2 separate regions of the Homo sapiens genome follow, and region 1 is linked to region 2. Evidence: promoter capture Hi-C in human tissues and cell types (Jung and others, 2019). All regions are on one chromosome and are shown on one strand. Each heading gives the region's core, a stretch centred on a gene start or on the middle of the fragment in contact. The rest is flanking DNA. Distances are from core to core; before and after follow the strand shown.

Region 1 (4,224 bases), core at 1,520-4,019, 410 kb after region 2:
CAAAACCACAGATTCACCCAAAGAGGAAATGACTATACTACTAATTCTAGCTGTTTTCATAGACAGTTCTGGAAATAGGAGTCACTGATGGGCAAGTCAGAGTCTGTATTTAAGCCACAGGCATGCTTTGTTTAACCATCACAATATTTTAGAAATTGAGAAATTTCATGAAACAGTCCTAATTCTTGACTTCTCTTGAAAATCAGAAAAACGTATCAACACGATCCACATTCCTATATGGCGACAAGCCGCTGGATGCAATGCATATCTGCCACAACCTTCACCATTTCTTTTGCCTTAAATCCAGCACCCTTTACTGATCCAAATTACCTGTAGATGTCTGAATCTGAGACTCCTGCAGTAGAGAACATTTTCTGGCTTGACCCATTTTTCCATGACTCTGTCTCTAACACTATTAGAACTTGGTAAGTAAATGTTTCACCACACATTTAATTGATATTTGCCATTTTCTTATTGATTAATTTTATATTGACTACCTAGAATCATGCAGCATGTGATATTGAAGAGAAGTCTAACATCTATAAGACTAAAATCTCCTTTTACCAATGAGAAACACTGAAACAGGGCTAGAAGTTGAGGCAGTATGTTGCTGGAGCCTAAAATATTCACACCAGCGCTGTCTGCATGCCTGTGGTTCAGTCCACTGCACAACGTGACCTATGTAAACTGTTCCTTGAACAAAATTGTGATATGGAATTTCTTTGGAATCTTAAATTGTGGAAACCAACCCCCTTCTGAGCCCATTCAATGCCAAGAATTTTAATTAAAATATAATAATAGTAATAATAAATTATAATTGTCAAAATTCCTTAGTAGTCTATTTCAATGAAGACGGAAATTTTATTTTTAGGCTTTTATTTTTATTTTTATGTTTTTGAGAGGGAGTCTCGCTCTGTCACCCAGGCTGGAGTGCAGTGGTGATCCCAGGTTCAAGCGATTCTCCTGCCTCAGCCACCCAAGTAGCTGGGACTACAGTCACACACTACCAGACCCAGCTAACTTTTTGTATTTTTGGTAGAGACGGGGTTTCACCATGTTGCCCAGGCTGATCTCAAACTCCTGACCTCAGGAGATCTGCCCGCCTTGGCCTCCCAAAGTGCTGGGATTACAGGCTTGAGCCACAGTGCTCTGCCTTGGTTTTTTTTTTTTTTAACAAAAGTGTGTATAGTGCAAAAAGTCATTTATCTGAAGGTAGCAAGCCTCTCTATATTTTTTTCTATATAGATATATATATATATAGAGAGAGAGAGAGAGAGAGATGTGTATATATATATACAAGATGTGAAAAAAATGCCTGATTTTCTTACCCCTATCTTCCCTAATGTTCTCACTTTCTATATTTTTAAAAGTTTAAAATGATAACGTGGAGGAGTGCTGAAAGATAATTGTTTAAATTTGTCAAAACCAAAGAACTGTAATGGGCTCGATTCTACTATCATTAGCTCCAGTGTATTTTATTATATGGCATGGCTGTTAAATGCATGAAAACTTTGATTTTTGATCTGTGCTTTTTAATTTATCACTTTAGTTTCTTAGTATAGATGAGTTTTATTTCCTTTTTAATTTCTTTTTTTTACAATTCAAGCATGTTGCTACCAGATGGAAATCATTTTAATAATATGTAGCTGCAATTCTTTTCTTTTCTTTCTTTTTTATTTTTTTTGAGACGGAGTCTCGCTCTGTCGCCCAGGCTGGAGTGCAGCGGCGGCTCATTGCAAGCTTCGCCTCCTGGGTTCACGCCATTCTGCCTCAGCCTCCCGAGTAGCTGAGACTACAGGCGCCTGCCAGCACGCCCGGCTAATTTTTTTTTTCTTTAGTAGAGACGGGGTTTCCCCTTGTTAGCCACGGTCTCCAGACCTCGTGATCCACCCGCCTCGGCCTCCCAAAGTGCTGGGATTACAAGCGTGAGTCACCGCGCCCGGCTGTTAGTTGCAATTCTTAAAGAAAAATTCAAATACTTAAAAGAACTATTGGAAATGTAAATGTAGAAATCCAAACCATGCCCAATCATATATAATATGACGCATCTCCCAAAATACACACACATAAACACACGCACACATTCACCTCCAAGCCCATGCACAATTATATATAATATGGTGCCTCTCCCAAAATACATACACATAAACACACACACACACACACACACACACACACACACACACATTCACCTCCAAGCCCCATTTCTCAAAGTTAATCCCTGTTAACAATTGGTATAATTTTCTATATTCTCTCTATAGATTTTAAAGATTTTTTTCACTCTATGATACATCTTAGCCATCTTTGAATATGTAGATATAGTTCATTTTCTCATGGCTATGTAGCATTTAATTGTGTGATAAACCTTAATTTATAAAAATGCTTCTGGTAAAAGATGAGTTCTTTTTATTTTTTATGGCAGGAGGTAGCTATTACAAAACATTAAGTGAATATGCTTGTATATACTATCTTTCACACCTGTATGAAAAAAAATTAGGATAACATTTTAGAAGTGCAATGGCTAGGTCAAACCTTCACCACATAGGTAGAACAGTTTCTAAATGACCCTGAAAATACCGTATTACTTTACACTCTCATGATCTCAACATCAATAATGGAGGATATTAATCTCTCCTTACTTTTGTGGACATTGAGTATTATCACTTAAATAAAACTTTGGGGCTTTAATCAATCAGTTTATGACATTTGTATTTTTTACCTGAGAGAAAGATTTTAGTTTATTTTTCTTTCTCACAATAAAATAGAACTAAAGCAACCAAATTTGAGCTTCGTTACTAAATGTTACATCTTAAAAATAATAGATAAGTATCAATCAATAAAAAACTACCACTAACTAATTCAACCACTCTGACCAAATCACTGAATATTCTAACTCATTTCATAACTAATTTCTCACCATCTTAGATATGATGGTGCTTCTTTTGAAGCACATGTCATTTCTGTTAGTATTTGCAAGGTCATTTTAAATATACATAAAGCTTTAAGCAGTGTCAAAGACTTGGAAAAATTTCTTTGTTTCCTCTGACTTAATCAAATAAATGTTTTCATTTTTCTTTTTAGTTACTCTCTTTTGAATCAAACACAATAAAAGACTGAACAAATATGACAATGAAATTGTAAAAAGAATATATAGAGATATCGATATATAATGTTGCTATTTATATAAGTAATGTGAGAACATAATTGTGTATATATCTGAAGTTTTAAAGAATGAAAGGATAAATAATAACTTTTTAAAATGTTTAGCTAAAGCAAGAGACAAGGAATAGGGTCGATACAACACGGTGACAAGCTAGACTAGAGCATATCTAGTTTTGTAGATTGTACTTTGGAACTACATGGAAATTTTTTACATAATTATAAACTTTTTTTTCAAAAAAAGCAATCTCTAAAAAAACTAATATAAAATAAAGCAAAGAAATAAAATATGTATTTAGTTGATGGAAGAATGACTACAAATGATATTAAAACACAATAATTTGACTAGGCATTGTCAAAGGGATGTAACTTATTAACTGAAAAAAACCCTACTTTCAGCAGCCAATTTTTGCAAGTAGTTTCGGTGCTATTATTAGAGTTTGTATGTATATAATTAAATAAAGTAGATGAGTAATTATGTGATATGTTAAGGATATTATTTCAGGTATTATTGAGAACTAGAATTCTAAGTTTGGGAAAAAGAAGAAACAAATGCAAAATAGAAGGTTTTAAACAAAACTCCCATAGTCATGGTCTTTAATTCAAAGTATCAATATACTACTGATGTATTTTATCTTAACATTATATTTCCTAGCTCCATCTATTTCACAAGTCTAGAAACAGTGACCCACCACATAACAATAAGCCTCAATATCACCCAGAGTTGATATCAAGACTAAGATTTGTTTCTATTAAAAGGAACTAGGGATCCTTGAAAAAAAAAATGGCTGATTCCAGGTCTTAGTCAAGAAATGGTCAAGAAAATCCTAGACCATCTTTCAGGCCAGTTATCAAGAAAATAACGAAAGTCTAAAAGTTGTGCCCAACGGGTTCAGCAGTCATCTTGAAGTGGCTCCCATAGCCTGATATGGGAAATTTGAGTATAAATAGTTCAATACATTAAATGTTTATATTCAAATAGCTATAGTGAGTGATACTAACATAACTTAGCCAACTGGTCACCTCTGGATAGTAGAGAACTGACTCACTCTTTTGAATAGCTGG
Region 2 (4,480 bases), core at 483-2,982:
ACCTCCTGGATTCAAGCGATTCTCCTGCCTCAGCCTCCTGAGTAGCTGGGATTACAGGCATGCACCAGCATGCCTGACTAATTTTTTATTTTTGTAGGGATGGAATTTCTCCATATTGGTCAGGCTGGTGTTGAACTCCCAACCTCAGGCGATCTGCCCACCTCAGCATCCCAAAGTGCTGGGATTACAGGCATGAGCCACTGCACCCGGCCCACACCTCAGCTTTGCTACTTCCCTGGGGAAGCCTTCCCAGGTCTTCCTACAAGTCCTTAAAGAATCGTGTATCTCTCCTTCACAGAACTTATTAATTTATATTTCTTTAGGTGATTATTTAATGAATGTCTTTGTGTCTTCCCAACTGAAGTATAGGCTCCAAAAGAGGAAGTATTTGTTTTTGCTCCCCAGGTGTCTTGAGTATTCAAAATTTTATTGAATGAGTAATTTTCATAAATATTAATATTCTTAAGAAACCATCTAAAATCCATCTCTGTGGTACCCTGAAACGATTTTAGAAACACTATAACAATAATAAAAAAAAATAGGTACAGAGTACTTACTGGCATATCAAGTCAAAATAAACAAAAGGGCAATTGGAAGGAGATGTAAAACTTATTTTTTCCCAAGTTTGAAAATATATTTTCTTAGACTTAGAACCTCATTTCTTTCAAGTTGTAAGCATATGCTAATTTCATAGCAGGCAACTTTTTCTTCCAGGACCAAAGGCTATAAGAAGCTTTGCAGAAGAAATTGAAATACAGTGCAATATTGCATGTAGGCATGAAATACAATCATCCATACATCTAGAGGGCTTTTAAAACATGATGCCTTAATCAGAATATTTTTAGTACAAGTTCTGGCCAAATGAATACCACATCGTCTGCAATGAATGCCTGAGTGGCAAGAAGCTGTGCTAGTTTACTTTAAAAAGAAATAAATTCACTTAAGGGAACCAGAACTGGGTTTCATTGCCCCTTAATTAGATGGCAATATGAAGTTGAGTGAGAAGTTAGTGCTAAATTTTCTACGTGTAGTTTTAGAATTATATACTAGTTGTGATATACTTACCAATTGCAGATTAGCCAAGCAAGAAAGTAGAATTTTATGCTAAAAGCTTAAAATGGGACGAAGAAAACATATCAGAGGTAGCAGAGATTTGATAATATCAATAGTAAAAAATGCAGCTGTAGACATGGGAAACCATGTGTGTATCATAAAGAAGTTAAGTAAGGTGACTCGGATAAAACACCTTCACTGGATTCCCCTAGGGCATCTTGCTCCGGCAGCGTGAGCCCAGAACGCTAGCCCTCCTCTCCTGCGCAGGCGCGCTAGGACCGACTTCTCCCTACAGTAAAGTGACGATAAACTCTGTGAAAGGTGGGACCCCAGGAAACCTGGGCCAGAGCAAAGAGATGACACTTTAAATCCTGGAACCCTGATGGGGTCTTTATTCCATTTCCCCCCTGCTGACTGCATGGCCTGTTACAGGAGTAGCTCACCTGCGGGGAGACCACAACCGTGGAGGCTGCGAGCCGCAAGGCGCGGCCCTGCAGACTCCGCAGAGCGCTTCCCCGCACGCCGGTCACCGCCTGGCCCGGGAGCACCCGCGCGCGAATCTTCTCTCCATTCAGAGTACAGCCTGGTCCTTCCACCATCTCTGTGGCCGGCACTGTGGCCCACCGATTGCAGGGCCTGGTGAGAATACCGCTGTGCAACTCAACGCTGCGCGGGCACTGACCGCACGCAGAGGAAATTCAAATCTCGCGCGCGTCTGGCCCCGCCCAGGCCCCGCCCAAACAGCACCCTAGCTGTTGAGGTCGCTCCCTACGGCGCATGCGCTGTGGTTCACCCCCGCCCTAGGTCTTGCTGTGGGTTTATTAAGAAAACGCAAACGCGCGTGGGGCGGGGGGCGTGGAGGACAACTAACTAGGCTGAACTGTAAAAGCAGAAGAAATTGGGACTTGGAAAGCTCTGAATGTATTTTCTTTGCGTTAAAGTTTTGCCCTTGTCTTTGAGCTACTTAGTATACACACATTTTCTGATCTGGTCCTCTTAATCTGTCCTTGTCTGTGACAGGACAGATATGTCACAGACAATCTTGTTTTTGGCTCTGTTTTTGGCATGCTATATTCGGACGTGGGTGGGATAAGAGAAACGAAGAAGAGGGTTTTTGGAACAAACAGCAGAATATATTCTAGTGTCTATATTTAAAAACTCCATTATTAGATAGTTAAGTGAGCCCTACCTAAGTGCATGCATCCATTTTGTAAGGGGACGCCCCAAGATGAAAGCTATATGAAATTGCTTTGTTAAACGTAGAGGTTTATATAAATTTGAGGGTAATGCGTAGCTTTTCAAATTTACCCACAACCCTAACCAAAGATGCATGCATACATATAAATCTATGAAGTTTATGACTCCATATAGTTTTGTAAATTATAAAGTGTATTCTTTTTTGAAAACTGAAATACTACACATTAAAACAGAATGTCAATTTCTAAGTGATTTCATAAGCATAGCACTGTGCTGCCGTTAAACCACAAGAGCATATACACAGGTGGTTGCTGACTTAGGATGCCCCAGCGTAACAGTGTTTTGACTGTATGATGGTGCAAAAGTGACACACAGTAGAAACTGTACTTTGAGTACTCATATAGCCATTCTGTTTTTCATTTTCAGTACAGTAGTCAATAAATTATTCAACACTTTATTATAAAATATGCTTTGTGTTAGGTGATTTTTCCCAACTGTAGGCTAATGTAAGTGTTCTGAACACATTTAAGGAGGGCCTCGTGAAGCTATGATGTTTGGTAGGTTAGATATATTAAAGGCATTTTCGACTTACTGTATTTTCAGTTTACAACGGGTTTATCAGGACATAACCCCATCGTAAGTTGAGGAGCATCTGTATACTAGAGAGTTGAATTTGAATATACTGAAGACTTGATTGAAATTTTGAAAAGTATTAAATCTTTCCTTTGCAGGGAGAGATTAGTGATCAAAAGTTGGCTGGATCAATTTCAGGACTATTTGTACTTTACTCCCTTGTTCAATTCAATAATCTCTGTCCTTTGATGGAGAAAAGTCCTATATACCTTCTCCTCTTTCAGCGTTGTACTAGTTATTTATTGTTACCTCATCAATTATCCCATTTGTTATTTCAAAGTTTCTGTGGGTCAGGAATTTGGCAATAGTCTAGCTAGCCAGAGTCATCCTGGCTCAGCATTTCTCAAGAGGTTACAGTTAAAATATTAGCCAAGGCTAAAGTGCCCCAAAGGCTTTTTGTAGCTAAAAGATCCACTTCCGAGATGAGTCACTTGCATGGCTGTTGGCAGGAGGCCTCAGTTTCTCACCTCTTGTGTCTCTATAGTGCAGCTCGGCTCTTCTAATGACATGGCAGCTGAGAGTGTGATCCAAGAGAGAAGTCAAGGAGAAAGCTGCAATGCCCTTTATTACTTAGTCACCCTTTATTACTTAGTTTACTATGGTAACTTACTTCTTATTCCATTCATTAGAAGCCAGTCATTAAATACAGTGCATTCACAAGGGGAGGGGAATTAAGCTGTGATTTGAAAGGAGGGATATCAAAGAGCTTGTGGACAAATTTAAAAAATATCAACCTGTTCATTTATCTGATTCACCTCATTTCTCTTTAAGGTGTTGTGTACTGTGCACATTTGGGTCAAATACGATCTTTAATTAGTAAGAGTTGGGGACTGACACTGAAGGCATTAAGAGATTTCACTGGCGTGACTGAAAGGCGGAGTCAGATTTTGTTTTGTTTTGTTGGCTGGAGTGCAGTGGCCTGACCTTGGCTCACTGCAACCTCCACCTCCTGGGTTCAAGCAATTCTCTTGCCTCAGCCTCCGATGTAGCTGGGATTACAGGCACCTACCACCACGCCTGGCTAATTTTTGTATTTTTAGTAAAGACGGGGTTTCACCATGTTGGCCAGACTGGTTTTGAACTCCTGACTTCAAGGGATCCACCCGCCTTGCCTCCCAAAGTGCTGGGATTACAGGCATGAGCCACTGCACCTGGCCCAGATTTTGTTTATATGTGACTAGCCTCTGAGTCCTTTGGTATATCTCTTTGATCTTGCTTCTTACGTCCAATCAAAAGCAAACTCGCATACGCTGTGTATCTACATTGTCTGTAAAAAGAGCCCACAACATTGCAAGCAAGCCTACCCTAGTGCAGACCCTTGCTACATTTCAGCTGGACTATGTCAGGATCCTGCTAACTGCTATCCTCCTTGAATTTTCTCTTGTGCACTCTTACCAGAGGAACCTTCACAATTTCTTCTTAAGTCCAATTTACTAATTTCAGTAAATTTGCTAAATCTATTAAATTGTGCTATTTGATAACCATATATATATATGTCATTTATCTTTTCCAAAACTCACTTTCTTCATATGGACAATAAATAATACTTTTTCTATACACCTGCATATGATTGCTCTAATTTCCATACACAACATAG

What was found. The method cuts DNA at HindIII sites, captures the fragments that hold promoters and counts their contacts. A contact is called where the count stands out against the background at its distance.
Region 1: a contact is called between a fragment that was not itself captured here and the fragment with the promoter of NEIL3 in region 2, in 1 of the 25 tissues and cell types used here (dorsolateral prefrontal cortex).

What each region holds. Positions count from the first base shown.
Region 1 is chr4:176,898,949-176,903,172 of GRCh38, reverse strand. No RefSeq gene overlaps it. Among named protein-coding and RNA genes, the nearest start is that of LINC02509, 25 kb to the right of the region's middle. The HindIII fragment of the contact is 5,130 bases long and covers 205-4,224 here.
Region 2 is chr4:177,307,126-177,311,605 of GRCh38, reverse strand. NEIL3 (nei like DNA glycosylase 3) reads right to left here and starts at 1,732. Exons shown (of 10, transcript NM_018248.3): 1 at 1,497-1,732. The coding sequence starts at 1,652. RefSeq lists an enhancer at 1,562-1,651 and a silencer at 1,732-1,851. The HindIII fragment of the contact is 18,461 bases long and covers 923-4,480 here.